Regions from separate parts of the Homo sapiens genome. Here regions 2, 3 and 4 are each linked to region 1. The links are contacts of gene promoters, found by promoter capture Hi-C in blood cells and fetal thymus (Javierre and others, 2016). All regions are on one chromosome and are shown on one strand. Each heading gives the region's core, a stretch centred on a gene start or on the middle of the fragment in contact. The rest is flanking DNA. Distances are from core to core; before and after follow the strand shown. Region 1 holds the start of PACS2 (phosphofurin acidic cluster sorting protein 2). Region 2 overlaps SIVA1 (SIVA1 apoptosis inducing factor). Region 3 overlaps AKT1 (AKT serine/threonine kinase 1). Region 4 holds the start of AKT1 (AKT serine/threonine kinase 1).

What was found. The method cuts DNA at HindIII sites, captures the fragments that hold promoters and counts their contacts. A CHiCAGO score of 5 or more calls a contact.
Region 2: a contact is called between a fragment that was not itself captured here and the fragment with the promoter of PACS2 in region 1, in 4 of 17 cell types (neutrophils, fetal thymus, monocytes and 1 more). The highest score is 8.1, in neutrophils.
Region 3: a fragment that was not itself captured here is called in contact with the fragment with the promoter of PACS2 in region 1 in 1 of 17 cell types (monocytes); the score reaches 5.5 in monocytes.
Region 4: the fragment with the promoter of AKT1 here is called in contact with the fragment with the promoter of PACS2 in region 1 in 2 of 17 cell types (neutrophils and monocytes); the score reaches 6.5 in neutrophils.

What each region holds. Positions count from the first base shown.
Region 1 is chr14:105,313,112-105,316,251 of GRCh38, forward strand. It overlaps PACS2 (phosphofurin acidic cluster sorting protein 2), which reads left to right and starts at 1,637. Exons shown (of 25, transcript NM_001100913.3): 1 at 1,637-1,926. The coding sequence starts at 1,808. It also overlaps a transcript of BRF1 not described here. RefSeq lists silencers at 999-1,088, 1,189-1,718, 1,859-1,948, 2,179-2,258 and an enhancer at 2,003-2,654. The HindIII fragment of the contact is 4,816 bases long and covers 1-3,140 here.
Region 2 is chr14:104,754,939-104,758,078 of GRCh38, forward strand. SIVA1 (SIVA1 apoptosis inducing factor) reads left to right here. Exons shown (of 4, transcript NM_006427.4): 2 at 692-886; 3 at 1,666-1,822. It overlaps LOC107987209 (a long non-coding RNA gene), which reads right to left. Exons shown (of 3, transcript XR_001750915.3): 2 at 1,468-2,482. Among named protein-coding and RNA genes, the nearest start is that of SIVA1, 3.4 kb to the left of the region's middle. The HindIII fragment of the contact is 2,093 bases long and covers 357-2,449 here.
Region 3 is chr14:104,774,373-104,777,512 of GRCh38, forward strand. AKT1 (AKT serine/threonine kinase 1) reads right to left here. Exons shown (of 15, transcript NM_001382430.1): 5 at 2,287-2,398; 6 at 1,280-1,427; 7 at 704-835; 8 at 566-631. Among named protein-coding and RNA genes, the nearest start is that of AKT1, 20 kb to the right of the region's middle. The HindIII fragment of the contact is 5,609 bases long and covers 1-3,140 here.
Region 4 is chr14:104,794,324-104,797,463 of GRCh38, forward strand. It overlaps AKT1 (AKT serine/threonine kinase 1), which reads right to left and starts at 1,425. Exons shown (of 15, transcript NM_001382430.1): 1 at 1,161-1,425. RefSeq lists enhancers at 1-532, 2,574-3,140 and silencers at 797-1,116, 1,147-1,196, 1,377-1,736. The HindIII fragment of the contact is 18,918 bases long and covers 1-3,140 here.

The DNA of each region.
Region 1 (3,140 bases), core at 387-2,886:
ATCTCCTCACTTGACCCCCAGTTGTAGTCCCTGCCTGGGTTAGACGCTGGCATACACAGGCACCATGTGTCAGGCGGCCCATCCGTCTGACTGCAACTGCACGCTCGCCAGGTCCAGCAGCGCCGTACGCTCAGTTCTGGGGTCAATGGGTGCCTGTCTCCTGCCCTCCCATCACAGACAGCCTGTCCTCCTGGGGTATGGCTACCCCCTCTCTGGACATAGTCACTTCTCCCCCTACCCTGTCTCAAAGGTATGAGATCCACCGGCCCTCTGCCCGCCGAGCAGCTGGCCAAGGTCAGACAGACCCTCATGGCTCTCAGTGTACCACCTTAGAGGAGCCAGGGGCGCGTGGGAAACACAGAGTCCCTTGTTCTCTCCGAAGTGGGACCCTGACTTTAAGCAGTCGCAGCTGTTTGCAGTTCTAGATACAGGAGTTACAGCTGGAGGCTGAGCTCTCTCAACGGAGGAAGCAGCGGCATGAGGGCCTTTGCAGAAGGAGCTGACGGGGCACTGGGGTGGCAAGCCCCGTGGGCCAGGAAAGAAACCAGCTCCAGGTCAATTTGCTCGGGCTGGATTTGTTTCAGTAAAACTACTTGTAGACAAGACACAGGGCGAAGAGAAAAGCAACTGTAAACTAACTGTGAAACAAGGAAACAGAAGAGAGGCCAGAAAACCGTTTCCTAAATCTCGGCTTGGCATCTGGTGCTGGACCACAGCCGCTGCCAAACAGATGGGGGAAGCACCCTCCCTGAGCCCCAGAGCCTACACGTCGGGCCCCAGCGGCTCTAGCCATTGCCTCCTCTTTGCTTGGGTCCCCAAGTTCACTGTTAACCCCAGGGCCAGGAGCCAGCCTTGGCCCCAGACATTTGTTCTCCATTGTCCTGAGCACAACGCTGAAAAGCGGCGCTGAATAAGGATGCTGGGACGCAAAGAGGGCGCCCGGGGTCATCTGGAGCCCTGGAGGCTAAGCTCGGCAGCCTGGCGCCCCGAGTGGCTTCGAGTCCCCGCGACCGCCGCCAGGCCCGGCCACCTCCTTGCCACCTCCCTGCGTCCCGGGGAACCCACGCAGGGGGGCGCGAGGGAGGGGCTCGGGGACGGGCGGGGCCCGCACAGCCGGGCCAACCCAGCGGGGGTCGGCAGGAGACAAGGGGCGGCGAGGGCAGGGGGGCGGGGAGACTCGGGGCATGGCGGGGTGGAGGCGGGAAAGTGTCGAGGCCGGGGAATCCGCGCGTGGGGAGGTGGGCATCGCCAGGGCGACGATGAGCTTTCCTTAGGGGGCGGCGCCTGAAGCTGGCCGGGACCCGGTGGACCCCCACGACTCTCCCGGCCCTTGCCCGCGGCTCCCGGGGGGCGGGGCGGGGCGCCCCGGGCGGGGTCTGTGCGCAGGCGCGTGAGTGCGCGCTCTCGCGCACCGGCGGGCGGGGACGCCCCGTGAGGCGCCGCCGGAGGAAGCGCGCGCGCACCTCACTTCCGGCGCGCGCTGCGCCGGCGGCGATTGGACCCGAGGCGGCGAGCTGGCGCCCCGCCCAGCCAATCGGCGGCGCCGGCGCGGGTCGGAGGGCGCCGGGCGCGCGCGGGGCGGCCGGGGGCGCGCGGGGCGCGGGCGGGGCGCCGGGCGGGGCGGGGCGGAGCGGCCGCAGCTCGTCGCCGCCCGCGGGCCTGTCCGACGCCGGGGCCCGGCCCGTCCCCTCCGCCGCCCGGCAGCCATGTGACCGCGCCGCCGCCCTCCGCGCGCCCGGCCCGCCCGCCGCGCGTCCGCGGCCCGGCCGCAGCCCCAGGCCGCCGAGGGAGCGGCGGGGCCGGCGCCATGGCCGAGCGAGGCCGCCTCGGCCTCCCCGGCGCGCCCGGCGCGCTCAACACGCCCGTGCCCATGAACCTGTTCGCCACCTGGGAGGTGGACGGCTCCAGCCCCAGCTGCGTGCCCAGGTACGCGCCGCCCGCCGCGCTTTGTTCCCGCCGGGCACCTGCTGGGGGTGTCCTGGCCGCGGCCTCTGCGCGCCCCATCCCCGGCCCGGGTCCCCCAGCGGAGCCCAGGTCGCCCCCCGCGCCCCCGCCCGCCGGTTCGACGCGTGCAGCCGCCGCCCCCCCGCAGCTCCGGCAAGCGCGGCCCCAGCCCCCCAGGTCCCGAGCACCGGGGGCCGCGCTCAGCTTCCGAGGACCCGGTGCTGCTCAGACCCGGCGGGACCTTGGGGCTCCCGGGCGGCGCTCACCTGGCTCGCCGCAACCGCACCTGCACACCTGCCTCAATGCGGTGCCGGCCGGGGTGACGAGGGTGCTTCCTCTCTCGGGTACCACACGCTTCCTTTCGCGTTCGGCGACACTGTCAGACCTCGGCCTGGGAGCGACCCCCGGCGCACGGGGCGCGCAGGACTCGGTTGTATCCTCCGTCCAGCGCGCGGTGGAGATGCCCTGTCCTGCGGGGCGGGGTCGTCCTCGCGGGTACCTGGTTGGCGCTGTCTCTCATTTAGAGGCGTCGCCAAGCCAGTACTGCTATTTGCGCCTCCCAGTTGATCTTGCCATTGCGGAAGACTGGCTGTTCTGCACTTGGTAGGGGGGCGCCCGGTCGCCCAGCGGTAACGATTGGACAGGGTTTACCCTCCGGCCATAGCCCAGCCTTCCTTGGACTTGCAGCTTCCCTGAGTCTCCTGCTCAGTTTGAAACTTTTGTAATTTCTTCGTGACTTGGTAGTTCCTGCTCAGGAAGCTCCCAGGCTAAGGAGGAGAGAGACACGCTCTCCGGAAAAGTTCTGGTTCTAGAATAGACAGCAGGCGAGAAGAGGAGGCGGTTGGGGGTAGTGAGAGTTCTCCCTGGGGAGATGGGAGGGTGAGCGGACCTTCCAGGCACTGGAAGTGGCCAGTATGCCTGGAGGGGACCCCACGTGGCATTGAGTTGTTCCACCCCTAGTCAGCTGCAGGTGGGCCTCTCCGTGCTTTCCTGTGGCTCCCACAGCCTGCATCTCTGAGCGTGGTGTTGGAGTTGCAGAGCCGCTGGACAGTGGGGCTTGCCCTCCTGGAGCGCAGGGTTGGGACCTCGGGGCTTTGGTTTTGCTGAGTGGACAGGAAGGATGCCCACCCGGCACGACTCTTGCACCTGGCGGGGCCTCCCGAAGGACCCAGTGTCCATATGAGACCTAAGGGTCA
Region 2 (3,140 bases), core at 153-2,652, 560 kb before region 1:
ACAAAAAACAAAGCATTTCTGGGTCTGGCCCTGGGCATCTGATTTTTCAAAGCTCCCCAGGTGACTGAACTGTGGCCTGATGGAAAACCACTGCTCCCAGGGATGGGTGGGTGTTCTAGAACAAGAGGTCTGGAAGGTTCTGGGATGCTTGTCTTGCCAGCAACTCTGTAGCAGGTGAAGGGGGTGTGCTCTGGCCAGAGGCTGTAGGCCCAGCTCCAAGCCTCTGGCTGCTTCCTTGGCAGGGGACGAGTTTTGTGAATTAGTGCTCCACAGTGCAGAGCTCCCTCTGTGCATTCCACAGAGCCTGGTTTCCAGGTGGGGAGTGCTGGGGAAGCAGAAAAGGGAGAAAGGGGACAAGCTTAGTGAGGCGAGGCCAGCCGTGAATTGCAGAAAATGAGCCGAGTGATAGGAGAGGGAACCCTTGCATCAGACACAGGTGGGGCTGCAGGGCCAGAGCCTTCCTGGAGGAGATGACAGCTAAGCCAGGTAAGGAAAGGACGCACAAGCATTCTCAGCATAGAGGCAGAGCAGGACCCAGCTCGCCAGGGCACAACACAGGCTGGGGTTACTGGGAGACAGAGGGCACACAGGAGGACGATGGGGTTCATGTGAGGCTAGAAAGACTCAATGGCCATGCAGGGGCTTCGTTGGTACACAGTGAAGGACGTGAGAATGATTTATCTTCCCCCAGAGAAGACCAAGCGACTCCTGTTCCTCGGGGCCCAGGCCTACCTGGACCACGTGTGGGATGAAGGCTGTGCCGTCGTTCACCTGCCAGAGTCCCCAAAGCCTGGCCCTACAGGGGCCCCGAGGGCTGCACGTGGGCAGATGCTGATTGGACCAGACGGCCGCCTGATCAGGAGCCTTGGGCAGGCCTCCGAAGCTGGTGAGTGGCACCAGCAGCCCTTTGTGGCTGTGGCACTGAGGGCAGGTGGTGGCACGAGCATTTTTCTTGATTTGCAAGGTCAGGCTTTTCCTCCCTGGGTAAGCAGGACTCTGACCCAGAGCTTGGCCTTCTGGCTCAGAAGGCTCCTGTTATCAGGAGGTCTCACATTCAAGACTGGAAGTTGTTAAACAGCTTCTAAGTACTGGGCCAAAAAAGCAGCAGAGACTCCCCGGGTATCCCGTCTGCTTTCCGCCTGCAGCCCCCTCAGATAGTCCCACAAGGCTGGAAACATGCCAGTCCCATCCCTATGCAGTGTGGGGTCTCAGAGCATCACCTGTGTTGCTGGTTAGAAATGCAATCCCCGACTCTACCTCAAGTCTGGTTGGTGTGTCTAGGAGGAGCCCAGGCACCTCTTTGTTAACCAGTAAGGCAGTGGGCCACACTGAGACCCAGATGGGACACATGGAGTTCTGACAAGCAACAGGGGAAGAATGGTCCTTCCAGCACTAGCCTCCAGGTAGCAGAGGGACCTGGTAAGGGAAAGAGCACTGAACTTGGAGTCAACTACAGGCATATCTCACCTTGGATCTCTGTAGTAAAACGGGGGTCCTGTGCACTGTACCAGGCTCACGGGTTGTCAGAAGGATCCAGTGTAGGTGGGGATGGGGTAGGCAGGTCAGAGCCCTCTGCCCTCAGGTATGCATGGAGGCAGGTAGCCCGGCAGTCCCGGAAACTCCAGTCTCCTTGCAGCCTGACGGCTTGGCGTTTCTTCCTCACAGACCCATCTGGGGTAGCGTCCATTGCCTGTTCCTCATGCGTGCGAGCCGTGGATGGGAAGGCGGTCTGCGGTCAGTGTGAGCGAGCCCTGTGCGGGCAGTGTGTGCGCACCTGCTGGGGCTGCGGCTCCGTGGCCTGTACCCTGTGTGGCCTCGTGGAGTAAGTACTTCAGTCCCTGGAGCTGCTGAGATCCCATAGCCCCAGCAAGCCGTGATGGGGGACGGGTGGGTCACCCATGTGGGCCCAGAACACACACGTGTGGCCCCTGATGCAGTGCCATCTGGCATTGCCTAACGGGACATGGTGGCAATAGATGCTTGGCCCAACTTTAGTGGTTAGTAATCCTCTCTAAGGGAAAGCTGAACCTCACAGATGACCTGCTCTGTATCCGGCTCTAGTCCCTGTCTTCAGCCACTTCCTGTTCTGATCTTTGAGCACCCCCACCTCCTCCTCCTCTGGTCTTTGAGCCCCCCCTCCCCCCGTCCGAGGAGCCCCTGGTTGGTGACACAGGTGCACACCGCAGCTTCACCACAGTCATGCGTGCCGTTTGGTTGTAGACCCTCTCAGGCAGGAAGTGGAGTGTTTGTGTAGTCTCCCATTTGTGGGTGGGTTTGCTGCAGCTGGCTGGATCCCGTCCTTACTCCTAAGGTGGGGAGGGGCGTTCTCACCCTAGGGGCTACTCACCTGGTGGATGGGAGTGGACAGTGTGGAGCCTGTTTGCCCTGCCCCGTGAGAAAGATGACTTCATCCAGACACATGTGGAACTGGCTCCATAGACCCAAAGCAAGCTTAGTCCAAACAATGTCTGAAATTGTCCATCTAAAATAGAAACCACATGTTACATCTCGAGTCCTTTCTCTCGAGCCTTTCTTCAGTCGGGGCAGAGGCCCAGACTCATTGGAGACGGAGAGCCCTGGGCAGGGGGGGCAGCACCAGGGAGAAGCGCCGCGTGCCAGTGATCGGCTCCCATGGCTTCAGCATGGGCAGGAGTGGGGTAACGCACCCCATCCAGGTTGGGAATCATCTGCAGGGCTAGCTATGAATGTGGGATACTCTGTCTTTGCTTTTCACCCGCTGAGTTCATCTTCTTTCCTAGAAGTAAACTGAAAAGGGCAGGGTTTTCTCATTGTCTGGTGGCCCTCTCACCAAAGCAGAAGTGAACATAGCCATGGGCAGGTTCAGCGGAGAGGTGGGTCCCAGAGCGCTGCGTGGCTGGCCTCCCACTCCTGCCCTGCACACCATCCTTGAGGGACTCCCTTGCGCCCATTTCCTCCTGGCCTCTACCTACTTTCTGCTGCTGCTTCCTCCCATACCCACAGAGTTCACGTTGAGCTGAGTGGGCCACTGTCCCCACTGTGGACACACTCTTTTATCGCAGCTACAGCACAGGAGGTGGGCTCTGCCCTCTTTCACAAATAAATGACTTGTTCCAGGTCACAAGCCAGAAGTGGCATTCCCAGGCCAGGCAGCCCAGCTG
Region 3 (3,140 bases), core at 162-2,661, 540 kb before region 1:
CAGCAGGGGACAGTGCTCCCAGCACCAGGGCCTTCGCAAAGGGAGGACACACCCTCCCAGGCGAGACCCACCCTCCCGCCTTCCACCACAGGCGACTGTGCTTTTAAAGCAAAGGCCCCATCTGCAGGAGAATCGTCCCCAAACACAGTGACCTGGAACTAACCAAGTGGCTGGACCCTGGCCCCCTTCACAGTAAATACCTCCTGGGCCAAGTCCCCAGAACAGGTTCTGCAGGACAGAGCCCGGGCCTCAACAAAAGCCTGGCAGGCAGGGCTGCAGGGCATGGGGAGCTGGGGCCTCCTGGAGCCTCGGCAGAGTGCAAGGAAGACCAGGGCCACCTGCCCCACCCACCTGCCCGCACACGGGAGCAGCGAGCACAGCCCCTAGCCCACACTGGGCACCTCCACAGCCTGACCCTCCAGGGCAGGCCTGTCTCACCAGCGGCGGAGTCCACGGTGTGTAAAGCCCTCACGTGCCCAAGAAGACAGGACATCGTCCCCTAGAGACAGCCCCAGGAGTCGCTACCTGGCCCCAGCCCTTCAGCCCCATCTGGGCTCCCACTCACTGTGAGGAAGGGGTGCCTGGAGTTCTGCAGGACGCGGTTCTCGGTGAGTGTGTGGGCCACCTCGTCCTGTAAAGCAGGGCTGGGTGAGCTGCCACCCCGCACCCTCATCTCCACCCTGCCCCACCGCCCCGGCCCCACCTTGGCCACGATGACTTCCTTCTTGAGGATCTTCATGGCGTAGTAGCGGCCTGTGGCCTTCTCCTTCACCAGGATCACCTTGCCGAAAGTGCCCTTGCCCAGCAGCTTCAGGTACTCAAACTCGTTCATGGTCTATGGGCAGGCACCAGGGTCAGCAAGCGGCGCTGCCAACAGTGCCCAGCTGGTCGGCATGCGTGGGGTGGCATGAGGGGCCCCAGAGTCGGAGGCAGAGCCAGGAGAGGCGTCCACTTCACACCTGGTGGCCTACTGGGCTCAGCGGGGAGTCCAGGCTTACAGGGAACACATGGCTGCGGCCCCAGCTCAGAGCATGGGGTTCAGGGAAGGGTGGGGTAACATTGCCCAAGCCTGGCAGGGCTCAGCAACCCCAGTTTTCCTCTGACATGGGGAAGAGGACCCACCTGGGAAGCAGCTGCGCCCTACATGGAAAACCGGCCTAGGTGGAGATGCCGTGGAGTGCTGAGTGTCTCCTGGGCCGAGCTGGGACCCCATGACCCACCCAGCCCTCCACAGTCCAAGGCAGCCCCAGGCACAGGCAGAAGTGGGGACAGGCCTCACCACGCGGTGCTTGGGCTTGGCCAGGGACACCTCCATCTCTTCAGCCCCTGAGTTGTCACTGGGTGAGCCCGACCGGAAGTCCATCTCCTCCTCCTCCTGCTTCTTGAGGCCGTCAGCCACAGTCTGGATGGCGGTTGTCCACTCCTCCCTGCAGGAGGTCAGGTGAGGCTGCAGGCCTGTACCAGATCAGGAGCTCCACCCCACGTCTTTCACCCACCCGCCAGCCTCACAAGCGTGGTTCCACAGCTGTCGGGGTTCCCAGAGACAGCCCTGAGGAGGCCACCACTTGACCTGGTCTGGCCACATACACTCAGGGTCACGAAGCCCTCTTGGACGTGGGGGACACCCAGGCTTAGCCCCCCAGCAGGACTCTGTCCCCACAACCGGACTCCAACCCCCAGCAGGACTCCGCCCCCCAGCAGGACTCCGCCCCCCCCAAGCAGGACTCCGCCTCCCAAGCAGGACTCCGCCCCCCAAGGAGGACTGGCCCTCTCCACCGGGTTTTTCTTTTTTTGAGACGGAGTCTTGCTCTATCGCCCTGGCTGGAGTGCAGTGGTAAAATCTCGGCTCCTGCAGCCTCTGCCTCTCGGGTTCAAGCGATTCTTGTGCCTCAGCCTCCCAAGTAGCCGGGATTACAGGTGTGCACCACCACACCCAGCTAAGTTTTATATTTTTAGTAGAGACGGGGGTTTCACCATGTTGGCAGGCTAGTCTCAAACTCCTGGTCTCAAGTGATCTGCGCACCTCGGCCTCCCAAAGTGCCGAGATTATAGACGTGAGCCACTGCACCCGGTCCCTAGCCAGTTTTTATCTCCAGCCTCAGTTTCCCCACCCAAACCCCACAGGCAGGACTGGGCCAGTTTCCAAACTGGGCTCTGAGGAGGGCCTGGGAGCACTGGGGAGTGAGGATGGCTACAGGCAGAGGTGCCAGCACCCCGCCATCCCCGTGTCCCTCCTAAGCGCTGGGGCTGCCCAAGTGCCTGGCCTGGCCGCCACAGCCCACGTACCGCTCCTCAGGAGTCTCCACATGGAAGGTGCGTTCGATGACAGTGGTCCACTGCAGGCAGCGGATGATGAAGGTGTTGGGCCGGGGCCGCTCCGTCTTCATCAGCTGGCACTCTGCGGGCAGGCAGAGCCTCTGTCTGCGTGCATCCCCCTGCCCCTCCCAGGGCCCTCACCACAGCCCCCGCTGCACCAGCCAGCTCCCCTTGCATACCACCCACCAGGTCCTGGGAAGCCCCATCTCTTCCTCTCTCCAAGCCTCAGTTTCTCGCCTCACAGAGTGGGGCTAGGACCCCTGTTCCAGCTCAGACACTCTACTCCAGGCTGAGGCAGCCACACAGGGCATCTGGCCCGGCGTCAGGTCAAACCCCCACCATCGTCCACTCCTACAGTCCTTCCTTCAGTCTCTGAGCCCCGCCGTGCGCCAGGCCTCAGAGGATGAGGGGTATGGAGATCCCACAGAGGGGCTGGCATGAGGGGGGCACCCCAGAAACCTGCTTGTCCCACCTAGTGTAGAAATGTCCTGCTTTTTTCCCAACCTCACCCTGAGTACCTGGGAAATACAGCCACCTGGAGCACACCCACACCTGGGGCACACCCACACCTGGGGCACAGGCACACCTGGGGCACAGCCACACCTGGGGCACAGGCACACCTGGGGCACAGCCACACCTGGGGCACACATACATCTGGGGCACACACACACTGGAGGCAAAGCCACACCTGGGGCACACGCACACCTGAGGCACACACCTGGGGCACACGCACACCTGGGACACAGCCACACTGGAATACACAGACATCTAGAACACATCTAGACACCTAGCCACATCTGGGGCACACGAACACCTGGGGCACA
Region 4 (3,140 bases), core at 175-2,674, 520 kb before region 1:
GCCCCTCCAAGGCCTGCTGCTGACAGAGTCAGACAGCTGTCCAGAGCCATGTGTAAAAATACATCTGTGCTCACACAGGGTGGTGTACGTCTGCACAGAAACGTATACACCAGGCCAGCACAGGGCTGCCTGTGGGGGCGGAGGGACCCCGACTTCCCACAGCCTCCGTACCTGCCGCCTGCCTTTACCATAAGCACATATTCTTGCTACTATTATTAAGTCACAACTTAAAAAAAAATACTCTGTTTTCGAAAGGGCTCCTCCATCTGCCTCCAGAACCCTGGTGTATGAGAAGTCTACACAGCTCCCGGGAGAGGCAACCGGACCCCCACCAACGGACTCCGTCCGCCCTTCGCTCGGATGAGGGACTCAAAGCAGTCAAGAAGTGGCCACCTGGAGCAAGGCCGAGAGACCCAGGAGTGAATGTGGGGCGGCCTCTGGCTGCAGAGCAGGGGCCCAAGCTCACCCGCTGACCAAGGCAGCACTCAGAGGCCGTCCCGACAGGACCAAGCTCGCTAGCGCCCCAGGATACTCAATCTAAGGGGCAAGCCCCAGCTGCCCTCCAAGCCTTGGCCTCTGGGATGGGCGGGCAGGACCTCCAGGGCCCACCCAAGACAGGAAGCAGTTCCGGGGCCCAGGAGGGTCACAGTCCTTTGTGGCTAGCCTGGGTACCCCGCCACCACGTACAACTTTTCGTCCGTGGGAAACGAAGTCTCCTTCCGGGGCCCTCCCACAAACTTGAAGGCCGGCCGCGGCGAGTCTTTCTCCAACCCCGGGGCACCTCCGCCGGCTGCCTCGCTGGCCCAGCGCCCGGGGAGCCCCACGGCCCGCAGGGGCACCCCGAGCCCCAGCTCCAGGCCCGGCGGCGTCCCTTCTCTCGGGTCCCGGCCTCGCCCGGCGGAGCGGCCTCCCCAAGGTCATGAGGGAGGCTGGGGCCGGCAGCCTGCACCCCCGGCGCCCGGCGTGGGGCCGCCCTCCCTTGGCCGGGCCCGCGCGCCCCGCGCCCTCCCCGCCCAGGCCCGCTCGGCCACTTCCTGCTCCCGCTCCTCCATTCTGGCGGCGCCGCGGCTCGCGCCCCGGCCCGACCGGCCGCGAACAAAGCGGCCCGGCCCGCGGGGAGGAAATCCAGGCCCGGGCGGCCACGGCGGGCGGGGACTCACCGGGCCGCCGCGTCCGGGCGCGAGCGCGGGCCTAGCCGGGCCGCGGCCTCCGGCGCCCGCCGCTCCGCATCCCCGCGGGCCGGCGCTGGGCGGGGCCGGGCTGGAGGCCGCGGCGGGCGGGGGCGCTGCTCGGGGCCGGGCCTCGCGTGCCGCCGCCGCTCGGTGCCCGGTGCCCAGCGCTCGGTGCTCGGCCGCCTGCTCCCGTCTTCGGGCCGCGCTGCGTGCGCTGGGCCAGCCGCCTGCCGCGCTCGGTCCTGCCGCCGCCGCCGGCCCGCCCTCTCCCCGCCCCGCGCCCGCCCCGCGCCCGGAGCCGCCCGCCCACATCCGCCTCCGCCGCCCGGGGCGTCCCCACCGCGCGGCCGGCGGCGAGGGCGGAGCGCGCTCGGGGAGCGCGCGGCCGGGCTGAGGGGCAGCTCCCGACGACCTGGGGCCTGGGCTGGGCCGCTAACGGAGCCCGGCCACCAGCCAGCCCGTCCCGGGGCCACGCCCTCTCTGGCCTCAGTTTCCCCGTCTGTAAAGTGACCCGGCGCTTCTGGGCTCGCTCTGCCGTGACCCTAGCAGAAGGGGCCCGAGACAGGTCAGGGACGAATCCCGGACTTCTGCCTCCGCGCGCGGGGCGGGGGTGGCTTAGGTTGACTTTCAGGCTGCCCCACTCTGGGGGGCGTGGAGGGGGCGGCCAAGAGTGACCTAAAAGGCCCAATCCCAAGACCTTGTGCCTCTGGGGGAAGTGCGGGAGGATGCCAGGACAGGAGGTCAGTTGGAGGTGGGCCTCCAAGGAGCAGGAAGGCTCCGAGGGGAGTCAACCATTCACCTAGGTACTGGCAGCTACACTCACAAAAGGGGGACTTTGCTGGGGAGTGGGAGAAGAGGGGCACACCTTGCCTGGCTCCCACCTTGAGCTGGGAGCAGACACCAGACAGAGGAGGAGCGGTGTCTAGGGTGGGCTGTGACAGCTGACAGCCCAGAGCCCTCCCTGCTGGGTGGACTTGGTCAGCCCGGACACCCAGTCCGAAGTCCACTGGGAGGCAGATGGCCCGGGTATGGAATGAGTAAGTGGGACACAGACCCCTTTCTCCTGGACACTCACAGGAGAGTGCAGGTGACTGCCACCCCGACCCCTTCCTAGCCAGAAGTTCCTCCGACAACTGCCCCTCCCCCATTCCAGAGGCCCACAGTTGATAATAACCCTTTTGTGAAAGACAGACTCTTGTGAGTTACCTTCCTGAGGCTGCTAAGTATTGGGGTTGGGGGAGCATTTTTATTTTCAGCCAGAGTGAGTTCAGCTGGCAGCAGGGGAGGGGGTGGGAGGAGATGCAGACAGAGGCAGCAGGTTCGGCCCAGTGCTCAGGACAGAGTCTGCAGCCAAAACTCGGGCTTCATCCCTGCCTCTTGGGGCTGACCAAGAGAAGGACTCTCTCCCCCTGCATGAGGGCACTCGCTCCTCAGACAGGGGACTCCCCATTCCTGCCTCTCGCCTGAGCACCTCTGCTCCCTCCCAGCTCAGACTTTGTAACCCCAGGAAGGGCCCACCTCCAGGGGGCCAAGTCAGAGGCCCAGTGGTCTGCGCCGCTTGGGTGGGATACCTGACACAAGGGTTGCCCCCAGAGCCTGGGCGTCTGGTGTCTGTCTCTCACCCAGCAAACCTGCACCATGAGCCACCTGGGGCTCCCTCTGGGACTGTCCCACCTGCCCACTGCTCCCCGAGGAAGAGTTCCTGGTATCTGTCCACCATCCTGGGCTCTGCCATGCAAGGATGGAGGAAGGAATTCAGGGAGGAAGCAGAGGGTAAGAGGGCCATGAGACAAGGCCAGCAAGTGGCCGAGGCTTGGGGATGTGGGAGGGAGCAGGGCACCCTCTCATGGAAGAGGCAGTGACATTGCGGGCTGTTCTTGAAGTGGTTGGACCTCTTGCTTATTTTGCACTGGCTGTCTCCAAGGAGGCCTCCCAGTCTTCCCAGCCTGGTGCCCTGGCATCTGCTGG